Linked DNA regions of Homo sapiens: regions 2 and 3 are each linked to region 1. Evidence: promoter capture Hi-C in human tissues and cell types (Jung and others, 2019). All regions are on one chromosome and are shown on one strand. Each heading gives the region's core, a stretch centred on a gene start or on the middle of the fragment in contact. The rest is flanking DNA. Distances are from core to core; before and after follow the strand shown. Region 1 holds the start of PARK7 (Parkinsonism associated deglycase). Region 2 overlaps RERE (arginine-glutamic acid dipeptide repeats). Region 3 overlaps LINC03154 (long intergenic non-protein coding RNA 3154).

What was found. The method cuts DNA at HindIII sites, captures the fragments that hold promoters and counts their contacts. A contact is called where the count stands out against the background at its distance.
Region 2: a fragment that was not itself captured here is called in contact with the fragment with the promoter of PARK7 in region 1 in 3 of the 25 tissues and cell types used here (aorta, lymphoblastoid cells and spleen).
Region 3: a fragment that was not itself captured here is called in contact with the fragment with the promoter of PARK7 in region 1 in 2 of the 25 tissues and cell types used here (heart right ventricle and mesenchymal stem cells).

What each region holds. Positions count from the first base shown.
Region 1 is chr1:7,959,955-7,963,725 of GRCh38, reverse strand. It overlaps PARK7 (Parkinsonism associated deglycase), which reads right to left and starts at 2,015. Exons shown (of 7, transcript NM_007262.5): 1 at 1,933-2,015; 2 at 851-963. The coding sequence starts at 940. RefSeq lists enhancers at 1,575-1,634, 1,685-1,734, 1,935-1,984, 1,380-2,163, 2,365-2,464 and 1 more and a silencer at 2,115-2,214. The HindIII fragment of the contact is 29,789 bases long and covers 1-3,771 here.
Region 2 is chr1:8,454,170-8,457,940 of GRCh38, reverse strand. All of the region lies in intron 11 of RERE (arginine-glutamic acid dipeptide repeats), which reads left to right. Among named protein-coding and RNA genes, the nearest start is that of RERE-AS1, 31 kb to the right of the region's middle. The HindIII fragment of the contact is 5,753 bases long and covers 1-3,771 here.
Region 3 is chr1:8,295,110-8,298,880 of GRCh38, reverse strand. It overlaps LINC03154 (long intergenic non-protein coding RNA 3154), which reads right to left. Exons shown (of 2, transcript XR_007065454.1): 2 at 2,432-3,771. Among named protein-coding and RNA genes, the nearest start is that of SLC45A1, 21 kb to the left of the region's middle. The HindIII fragment of the contact is 7,461 bases long and covers 1-3,771 here.

The sequences.
Region 1 (3,771 bases), core at 766-3,265:
CTTCAAATGTATTTCTTTGAAGCATCTGCTCTTTAAGAAACGAGTCTGAGGGGCCGGGCATGGTGGCTCCTGCCTGTAATCCCAGCACTGTAAAAGGCTAAGGCGGGCGGGTCACTTGAAGCCAGGAGTTCGAGACCAACCTGGCCAACATGGTGAAACCCCATCTGTACTAAAAATACAATTAGCCGGGCGTGGTGGCGGACACCTGTAATCCCAGCTGAGGGTGAGGCAGGAGAATCTCTTGAACCCGGGAGGCAGAGGTTGCAGCGAGCAGAGATCACACCACTGCGTTCCAGGCTGAGCGACACAGAGAGACACCATCTCAAAAAAAAAAAAAAAGAAGAAAAAAGAAATGGGTCTAAGGACAGTGCAGTGGCTCACGCCTGTAGTCCTAACACTTTGGGAGGCCTGAGGCGGGTGGACAACTTGAGCTCAGGAGTTGGAGAGCAGCCTGGGCAACATGGCAAAACCCTGTCTCTACAAAACATACAAAAATTAGCCAGGTGTGGTGGCACGCATCTGTAGTCTCAGCTATTTGGGAGGCTGAGGTGGGAAGATGGTTTGGGCCCAGGAGGCAGAGACCGAAATGAGCCAAGATCCTGCCATCGCACTCCAGCCTGGACGACAGAGCTCAAAACAAAAGAGAAATGGGTCTGAAGGAAATATGGCAAGACATTAACAAGCGTTAAATGTGAGCAGTGGATCAACAGGTATTTATTCTTATGTCATCTCTGAAATTTTGTGTATATTTGAAATATTTCATAGAGCACTTTGAATATTTTATTCAAAATGATTTAAAAATCCAAAAACATTTAAAACAGGAATGGCTAAAAATCGATGTGGGACTTACCCCAGCTCGCCTCATGACATCTACAGGGATGACCGTCTCCATTTCCTCTGCTCCTTTAGCCAGGATGACCAGAGCTCTTTTGGAAGCCATTTTTATGTTATATGTTTACAAGCCTTAAAAAAAAAAAAAAAAAAAGATTTCAAAAAACTTTCATTGCAACCCTGAGATACCCCAAAATTTAAAGTTTAGGAGCATTTTCAAGCAGAGTAAGTACTTCCTAGGGAAACGGTTTTCATAGACAACTGAATACGAAAAAAGCAGCAGTTTAGTTATCTTAACGTTGATTTGTATAGCAGTTTTAATTGCTCTGAGATGAAAACATAATGAGGGTGCTAAAAGGTGTAGTATTGCTTAGATTTTCTTCTACCATGTTCTCTTAAATCCAACTTTAATAGTATGTTGCAAATGGGTTTTTTAAAAATACAAGTACGTGGGTCTCCTGCATTTCACACAATGCGGGGAAACAGTCTTTTTTGAAGCACTGTTTCAGAGAAACGACTAAACTGAATTTCATGGGCAAAAATTTAAATGTGGTCTTTCGCAATTAACTTGTAATTTTTTGGAGGGGATTTTTGTTTTCTTAGTTATAACTGTACTAAAAAATTGTGTGTGGGGGTCAACAGTGTTAAATGTCTGAACACTTTTTTTAATGACTGAGAAAGATGGAAATCCCCTCACTGAAGTCAACCCAACTACATCTGTCTCTCTGCGCGGAGTTCTCACTGCCAACGACAGCAGCTCAACGAGGTTCCGAATTTTTTTTAGCCTATTTACAGATTATCTGGAGGGTTTACCGTCCACGCAAAACAGAGTTTAATAAAACGGCTAGCCAGTTCCATGCCGGCGAGAGGTTAGGCAGAAGATTCTGGACGCTTCAGCGTTGCCACCACGCTGGCGGTCAGTCAAATCCAACGCCAGCGACAGGGCCCGACTGGGAGGCCGGAAGCGAGGGCGGCCCCGACCCAGGCCCCGCGCCGGTTCTGAGCCAGCGGGACACCGTCCAGCACAGGGACACCGTCCAGCACCCCCACGCCGCCCAGCGCCACGGCCCACACATGCGCCGCGCCCCCGCTGGCGCTGACCTGCACCCCGCGCCTCTTCCTGCGGACGCGGCGCCCCGGCCCGTTGGGTACCACTCACCCCACACCAGGCTGAAAATGAACGCACGCCAGCACGCACGCGCGCCGTCCGGCCTCCCTCAGCCCCACACTGCGCAGACTCACGCCGCCTTGGCCTCACGCTGCGTCACGTCCGGCCGAGTCTACCTCGGACTGAGGCGGGGGTGGCACCGGGGAGTTTCTAGCTGGACAGCCCTGGGTGAGGCGGCTCGGTCCCACATGGTACCCCCCACGAATGGCACAGTCCGGCCTGCCCCGGCGCCCGCGGGGCTTAACAGTCTCTACCGCCACCCTCCGTGAGGAGCCGGTCTCTGGAACTGCCGAGGGACTGGGGTTGTCAGAGGGGTTCCTTAGTTCGCGCTCCGTGCACGCCTGCTCCCTTTGCGTTGTTCCTTTTCTGGCGCGCCTTCCCGTTTCGCCTCTGGTCTGTTAGGACTCTGGTCCAGGCCTCCCGGACCTCTCCCCCACGCCTGGTCTCCCGATCTCGGGCGACTCTGCCGCATTTATTCACACCCGGATGTCTCAGGGGTGTGAGTTTTTTTCTCAGCATTGTTTGTTTTCTTTAACGATCCTGATGCTGCTGCACCCACAGGACTAGAGCAGTGCTGCGCACATAAGTCTAATAAGTACCAAGTTGGTCAGATGTATTTACATCATAATCTCAAGTTGTATTTATTGATATGTAAGAGACGTATGTGTTTTCTGGGTACATGTGGTATTTTGATACTTTCATATAATGTGTAATGATTAAATCAGGGTAAATGAGATCTCTATCACCTTAAACATTTGTCTTTATACTGGGAACATTCCAGTTACTCTCTTCAATAATAACATTTTAAAATATACAACAGATTACTGTTAACTATAGTCACCCTACAGAACTCTGCCAACGCTAGGTCTTATTCCCTCTTAAGGAGAGCACAGATCACCTGGTGACCATCAAGCAGGCCCCTTATCTGAGGAATTTAGAAGTAATTAGATATCCCTATTATCTAAAGTTGGCACCTGGTACCAGGTTAAATCAAAGGAAATAGTTAAAGCCCAAAATTCTTGAATGAGCTTAGAAGGATCCTGGCTAAATGAACGCAACTTGGATTGAATTTGCAAAAAATGAGACATTCGAAAAGGGACATGAAAAATCCACCGCGGCATGCTCAGTTCTCTCTTGCTGAGGCTGCACTCTTCTGCAGCGTTCTAATAAAACTTTCCTTTTTCAAACCTATATTGTTGTCGATAAATTCTTCTTACCAACCAGCAAGTCGACCACTTTCTGATGCTGGGGCTCTTGACACCTTGCCCAGCACTTCTACCAATTTTTGTACCTATTAATCACCCTGTTCATCCCCTTCTCCTGGCTACCCTTCCTGGCCTCTGGTAACCACCAACTTATCTTCATGATATCCACTTTTCAACTTCCCATTTATGAGTGAAATCATGTGATGCTTGTCTTTCTTTGCCTGGCTTGTTTCACTTAACATAATGACCTCCAGTTCCATCAATGTTGTTGCAAATAGGATTTTATTATTTTTTATGGCTGAATAGTATTCATTGTGTATATTTACATTTTATTTATCCAGTCATCCATTGATGAACATTTTGGTTGATTCCATATTTTGACTGTTGTGAACAGTGCTACAATAAGCATAGGAGTGCAAATATCTCTTTGATATATTGATTTTCTTTCTTTTTTTTTTTTTTTGAGACTCCATCTTGCTCTGTCGCCTAGCCTGAAGTGCAGTGGCACCATCTTGGCTCACTGCAACCTCTGCCTCTGTGTTGAAACAATTCTCGTGCCTCAGTCTT
Region 2 (3,771 bases), core at 869-3,368, 490 kb before region 1:
CTCCTGGCATACTTCTGTCTTAAATCTAAAGTCTCCCTTAGGCTAGGCGCAGAGGCTCATGCTTGTAATCCCAGCACTTTGGGAGGCGGAGGCAGGGAGATCAAGTGAGGTCAGGAGTTCAGGACCAGCCTGGCCAACATAGCGAAACACCGTCTCTACTAAAAATACAAAAATTAGCTGGGCGTGGTGGTGCGTGCTTGTAATCTCAGCTACATGGAAGGCTGAGGCAGGAGAATCACCTCCCCAGGAAGCAGAGGATGCATTGAGCCAAGATTGTGCCACTGCACTCCAGTCTGGGTGACAGAGCAAGACTCTGTCTCAAAAAAATAAATAAATAAATATATAAAGTAAGTAAGTAAGTCTCCCTTAGGTAGAAGTAGTGATGGCCTTGGTAGCCCCCTAATTGCCATCTTCACTAGAGTGCCAGCCTATTTTGTATCTTCTCTAGTAGTGTTTTGTTATTCTTTTCCTAACACCCTGCATGCAACTAATTGACACTTAGATTTGATTTTGTTTTTGCACTTGCCTTAAGACATTTTTCCGAAGTACCTTTATATAGGTGAATTCTAGTGTGTTTTCCACATTTATGAGGCAAAGTACTGAGCTATCAGGAAGCAGCATGTGTTTGGTGGTTATAAGGGGAGAAAGACAGTGCCTGATATTGGCCTCACCACCTGAGCATGGGGCCTCAGGATCTGTCTGTCTGGCTCTGCATTCCTTGCAGAGGAGTTTGGTGTCGGTTTGGCTCTTCCTGTGATTGTTGACTGTGTGAACATGAAGATAGAATGATTCCTTCCTACTTACCAAGTTTCTCATTCAGTTCTGATTTTAGCTCACTAGTTGAAATTCATTCATTCTTTCATTCTGGAAATATTGGTAGAGCATTGACACTCTGCCAGGTGATACAGCAGTGAACAAAACAGACAAAATTCTCTGCCTTCATGGAGTTGAGATTGTAGTGGGGAAGGAGGATAGATTAAAACAGTCTTGCTAAGTGACATGTATAGTGTGTTAGTCCTGAAAAAATTAAAAGCAGGAAAGTGATAGGAAATACCAGGTAGAGGGGTTGAACTTTTTCTTAAGGTAGCCATGGAGAGTTCACTTTTGAGTAAAGACCTTAAAAAGTGAGGAAGCTAGCCTTGCAGATACATAGGGGAAGAGAATTCTGGGCCAAGGAAACAGTGCAAAGGCCCTGAGGTGGGAGCATGCCTGAGTGTGTTCCAGGAAGAGCAAAGATGCCCCGGAGTGGATGGAGAAGATGAAGTCGGAAGGCCACCAGGATCTTAGACCAGAGATGTTCACTCCTATTTTGTACCTCACAGTTAAATTACATTATCAAATTAATGAGGAATTCTTGAGGGCTGTTCTGTTTTCTCCTAACATTGTATCTCTCATAACAGTGTTTTTACGGCTTCAGTTATGTAGGACTCTGAGTCATGCATTCCTCTGACTTCTGCAGCTGCTCATTGTGTCAAGATTGAAGCGTTTTTGTTTTGTAACTGGTTTAGACAATATTTACTACATAAGTTTACTATAAATTCAGCATTTGTGAGAGGAGCTGTTTTTCCTGAGTAGGAGCAAGAAAATACCTGGAAAGAAAAGTGTACCTGCTCTACCTCTATCTTGGAGCAGTCATTACTCTTGTTATCAGCCTGTCCTGACAAATTTTAATTCAGGAAGTGAACACTGTGGAAAACTTAAAACTGTAGATGTCATGCTCTGAATTATAACACCTAATGAAAAGAGTCATCTCAAAAATCTTCCTTTCTTGAGTCAAATACCCTGGCTTTGAGACTCAGCTCAGGGGAGAGTCCCTCTAATACTGCTGTTTGACAGAAGAGGCCAGCTTCCCTTGTCGGCCGGCATTTGCTTGCTCTAGGCCTGTGGTGATTATTCTTAATGTCTGGAGGATGGATGCTACGTGCACTGACTAACTAGAATGCTGGGCCAAGCTTAATGTTCCCTAGTAGTGTTCTGATATTCTTCTTTCCCCAACACTCGTTCTTCTGAGAGGTTAGGGTGCTCACGAGGCACTTTAGAATGAGGAGTGGCCCATGACTGATGAAGGCCGGGACGTCACTGCATTTTGCAGGCCCTGCTGCACCAGGTTGGTTTGACAAGTTCATTTAGGTGCCTCCACACAAAACTAGGAAGTCTTGAGGGCAGGGTTGTAGTTTAATTCTTTTTGTATTCACAGAACCTGGCCCAGCACCTGGAGCAGGATTGATAATAAGAAAATATCATTTGAGTGGGTGGAACAGAAGAGAAACCTCACATTGCTTCAGTGCAGTGACCTCTTTGGCTGAGCTCTTGAGCTGCCACCGTCTAGGGAGAATTAATTAACTGGATGTGTCCCTGTTCTTTTCCTCTCAGTAGCTTGCTTTGGAAGGAGCAACCAACTCCTTCCAGTTTGTGGTTTTATTTTCTAAATTCCAATTAAAAAAACTCGTTCATTGCCAACATCACCTGATGTGTACTGATGATACGTGTGGTTGAGATGTTCTATTATGGGAGAATGAGTGATGGAGAAGGAAAGAGCTCAGTGGGCAGCACAGGTGAATCTGGCTGTTCTAACACACCTTCCCATACAACTCAGCACTGTTCCCCCAGTTCAGGAATCGTGCTCCCTTGTGATCTCGCCACTGCACTCCAGCCTGGGTGACAGAGCGATACCCTGTCTCTAAAAAATAAAAAATAATAATAAAAAAAGGAATCATGCTGCTAAGAACACCAGGAAGATTGTTATTCTGAAAATAGGAGGATGCCCAGAGTTGCCCTGAACAGCTTCGTCACCACTGCCCCGTGTCCCTCCTGGCTCTGCTGTCTGAGGGCTGCTGACGTCCTGGCACCTGAGCTCTCTGGGGAAGGCACAGTTACCTCCTGAAGAAGATAAGCCAGGCTCTTCTCTTTCCTATATGGAAAACTCATTTTTGGGGTGGGTTGGTGGGCAGAAGCAGGAAAAACAGGCCTGGTGGTTTGTGGAGAGAAAACTGGCCTGAGAGTCAGAGGTGTGGGTATCAGTACTCAGATTGGCTGCCACCTGTGTGGCCTCAAGAAAGTATGATCTCCCCACTCCCCTTCTTGAGTCTTCAGTTTTGTGGGGGTTTTTTTTTGTTGTTTGTTTGTTTGTTTGTTTGAAACAGAGTCTTACCCTGTCGCCCAGGCTGGAGTACAGTGGTGCGATCTTGGCTCACTGCAACCTCCACCTCCCAGGTTCAAGCGATCCTCCCGCCCCAGCCTTCCAAGTAGCTGGGATTACATCCTCACACCACCACGCCCAGCCAATTTTTGTATTTTTAGTAGAGATGAGGTTTCACCATGTTGGCCAGGCTGGTCTCGAACTTCTGACCTTGTGATCCACCTGCCTCGGCCTCCCAAAGTGCTGGCATTACAGGCGTGAGCCACCACACCCAGCAAGTCTTAAGTTTTTTTTTTTAATCTAAAAAATTATAGGAAAAGGAGAAGGAAAGGGAAGGGGAAAATTCTGAGGTGCTGGCAGCTGTGTTTGACAGGAGGTCAGGATTAAGCCCATCTTGGTCTGCTGCCTGCCCCATCCTTTCACTTCCCAGGTGAAAAATTGGCCACATGATTTATCTAAAGCTAACAGAGTCATTCCTGTTTAAGAAATTTGAAAACACACGTGTACACATGCATGTGTGCGTACACACACACACAGTGTCCTTTTGTTACTGAAAGTTCTGGGATCTCCCTTGAAGCTGATTTGTAAGTTTTGATCATACTTTTATTTTTCTAAGCTTTGCCATTGACAGT
Region 3 (3,771 bases), core at 920-3,419, 340 kb before region 1:
TCACACTCTTCCTCCTGAATCATTTTAAAAGAATATATTCATCTTACACTCAGGCCCCTCTTGAAGGCCTGTGTGGGCTCTGTTTATCATGCCAACCCAGTTTTGTTTTTGTTTTTGTTTTGAGACGGAGTCTCTATCTTGTTGTCCAGGCTGGAGTACAGTGGCACAACCTCGGCTCACTAAAACCTCCGCCTTCCAGGTTCAAGCGATTCTCCTGCCTCAGCTTCCCAAGTATCTGGGATTACAGGTGCCTGCCACCACGCCCGGCTAATTTTTGTATTTTTAGTAGAGACGGGGTTTCACTATGTTGGCCAAGCCGGTCTTGAACTCCTGACCTCAGGCGATCCACCCACCTCGGCCTCCCAAAGTGCTGGGATTGCAGGCGTGAGCCACCGCGTCGGCACCAGTTTTTATCATTTGTTCTCCATAGCTTCATCTCTGGTTGGCATCACAGCACAGAGAAGCAGGCCACTCTCTGGGACCAGGTTGAATCTCTCCAAGGAACAAAGGCTGCTACTGCAAGGGTGTTTCTTAAGACAACCATAAGTTTTTATTCTGGGGACTTGTTCAGGTATTTAAAATAATTATTAAAATTTTTTAAACTTTAATTTTTTTGCTTTATACAATTTCCAACCTTTATAGGACAATTAATTGCCACACACTTTCTGCTTCTTTCAGGTGCTGGGAACTCCTTGGCAACACACGTTTCCCATCCCTTTACCACCAACACATTTTCACGTGCAGATGTTCCAATGACAACACTCCCATTAGTTTCTACTTGTGGGGGGCCAAACCTCTTGCCTGAGTCAGACTTAGAAATAAGCAACTATATAAGCAGAGAACTGACAAGAGGGAAATTTTTGTCCACTAAGGATTCATCTTGAGCAAAGTTACTTGTCTTACACAAAGAGGGTTGAGGCTAGGTGCAGTGGCCCACACCTGTAATCCCAGCACTTTGGGAGGCTAAGGCTGGTAGATTGTGTGAGCCCAGGAGTTCAAGACCAGCCTGGGAAACATAGTGAGACCCCTATCACTACAAAAAATACAAAAATTAGCCAGGCACCGTGGCGCACACCCGTAGTAGTCCCAGCTACTGGGAGGCTGAGGTGGGAGGATCACCTGAGCCTGGGAGGTTGAGGCTGCAGTGATCCATGATTGCACCACTGCACTCCAGCTTGGATGACAGAGTACGACCCTGTCTCAAAAAAAAAAAAAAAAAAAGTTGGTTTTATGAAGCTTTGTGAATCTCCTGATAGGCCTTAGTACAATTAAACACAATGAAGACAATTGCTTTCTACTTACACGGGGCCTGGGGATTGTTTCCCATTCACTACGCCATTTCTTCTTCCTGGGTGCACAGGAAGACTCCGTTTCCCAGTAGCCCTTGCTAGGGTGAGATCATGTGACTGAGTTCTTGCCAATATGGATGTGAGTGGAAGTGATGGTTGCTATCAGTTCAACGTGTTAGAGCAGGTGTGAGCTCTTCACACTTTTGCTCTCTCATCAGGGGCTGTTAGCAAATAACTTCCAGATGGCAGATCTGTGAGAGGGAAGCATACTGGATTCCTGAGTTGCTGCAGGAGGAGAGCCACCTGACCTCTGAACTCAAGGGAGCCACTTTTTGTGTTTGCCCCCTGAGCTTTGGGGATTACTTGTGCCCTTGGCCCACCCTGATTAACAGAACACACTTCTGCGATACTACATTCTCAGAGGGGTTACGGGACCTTAGATATCTGAGCCCTGCACTGTGTCCCTAGAGACCTCATTCTGGGCTGCGTCAATCTATTAATCAATAATCAAGGAGTATAATCATTCTTGGAAGCATCTCATTAATGTGGGAGATTAGGATGCATTTCTCATGAAGTTAAGAGCTCTCCTTTGAAACTCAATCAGTAAGTAGGTACCCAGTTCCCCTCTTTGGCCAGCTCACAGTGTCCATTTCAGACCCAAAAATGAATTCAAGGTGTCAGAGGCATTCAAACTAGAGCAACTCCATCTTGAACAGGAGCTGGGTAAAATAAGGCTGAGACCTACTGGGCTGCATTCCCAGGAGGTTAAGGCATCCTTAGTTACAGGATGAGATAGGAGGTTGGCACAAGATACAGGTCACAAAGACCTTCCTGATAAAATAGCATGTTGTAAAGAAGCTGGCCGAATCCCACCAAAACCAAGATGGTGACGAAAGTGATTTCTGGTCATCCTCACGGCTCATTATATATTAATTTTTGTGCATTAGCATGCTAAGAGACCCTCCCGCCAGCGCCATGACAGTTTACAAATGCCATGGCAATGTTAGGAAGTTACCCTTCATGGTCTAAAAAGGGGAGGAACCCTTAGTCCCAGGAAATGCCCACCTCTTTCCTGGAAAACTCATGAATAACCCACCCCTTGTTTAGCACATAACCAAGAAGTAACAGTAAGTACAAGTAGCTGAGCAGTCCACGAGCAGCCATTCTTTATTCCTTTACTTTCCTAATAAACTTGATTTCACTTTACTGTATGGACTCACCCCGAATTCTTTTTTGTGTGATATCCAAGAACCTTCTCTTGGGGTCTGGATTGGGACCCTTTTCTGGTAACAAAGGGAAGAGAATCAGAACGCTACCTCACTCCGAGTCGTGAACACGAGAAGAGCTTGCTATCTATCATGACTGATATTTTTTATCATGGTGTGAATAATTGGCCACTATTAGTCAAAACACTCCCCAAAAGCAAGAGGCTCTCAGCTGAGAATGCTCACCCCTTCTCCAAATGCACTAATCAGACAGCTCGCTCCTCAGCCTGTGGGGCCACCATGAGGCCCCTCCCAAAATACCCATCGCTGTTCTCCCTGAGGAGCCCCAGGGCTGCTGTAGATTTGTTCTCTATAAGACTCTGAAATGGGTAAAAATAATACTTATTAAAATAATTCCAAAAGCATTTTAAACCTTTGATTAAGAAAACAAGTGATTTTCTACATTCCCATGATAACTATTTCAATATTATTATATGTAATATATTATTTCAATATAGCTGATCAGAGTCCTTGCACTGACATTAAATGACAACACAGAGACACATGGGCTTGATGGCGGGCACCTGTAATCCCAGCTACTTGGGAGACTGAGGCAGGAGAATCGCTTGAACCCAGGAAGCAGAGGTTGCAGTGAGCCGAGACAGTGCCACTGCACTCCAGCCTGGGCAACAAGAGTAGGACTCTGTCTAAAAAAAAAAAAAAAAAGAAAGAAAGTTCCTAGAAGCAGGACCATGCAGGGCAGGTGCCAGGGTGTTCGTGGAAGGGGCTGTTGGGGGAGAACCTTCTTGCACTCTGTGGCACCGGGGTGCCCAGCAGTCTCTGCTATCTGCCCAGCATCCAAGGCCTGTGGCCTTCAACTCATTTTGGAGAGGCTTCCCAGCAGCAGCTGTGCCTGACGGTACTTGGGTGGAGTCTCCACCTCTGAATTCTGTCACCTTTTCAGAAAGTGACAGTTTTGAACAGTTTTGCCTTTTTGTAAAGTGTAGGCAATTATAATGGTGATACCAACATACACAGTTTGAGCGGCCCCTCTCTCCCTCTCTCCCAAGCTCCATGATGAACATTTCTAGGCCCTTTGTGGGCCTCCTCACCACACTCAATGGAGGAGGGCAAGCTGGGGTTCATCTTGCCAGGCTCAGCTCAGTTCCCCTCCTTGGGGTCTGCCCTGGCTCTGCTCTCTTCAGGTTCCTACCCACAGCTCAATTATTCAGCCTCACAGAACAGGTCTTCTTTCTCCTCTCTGCTTTCCTGGGTAG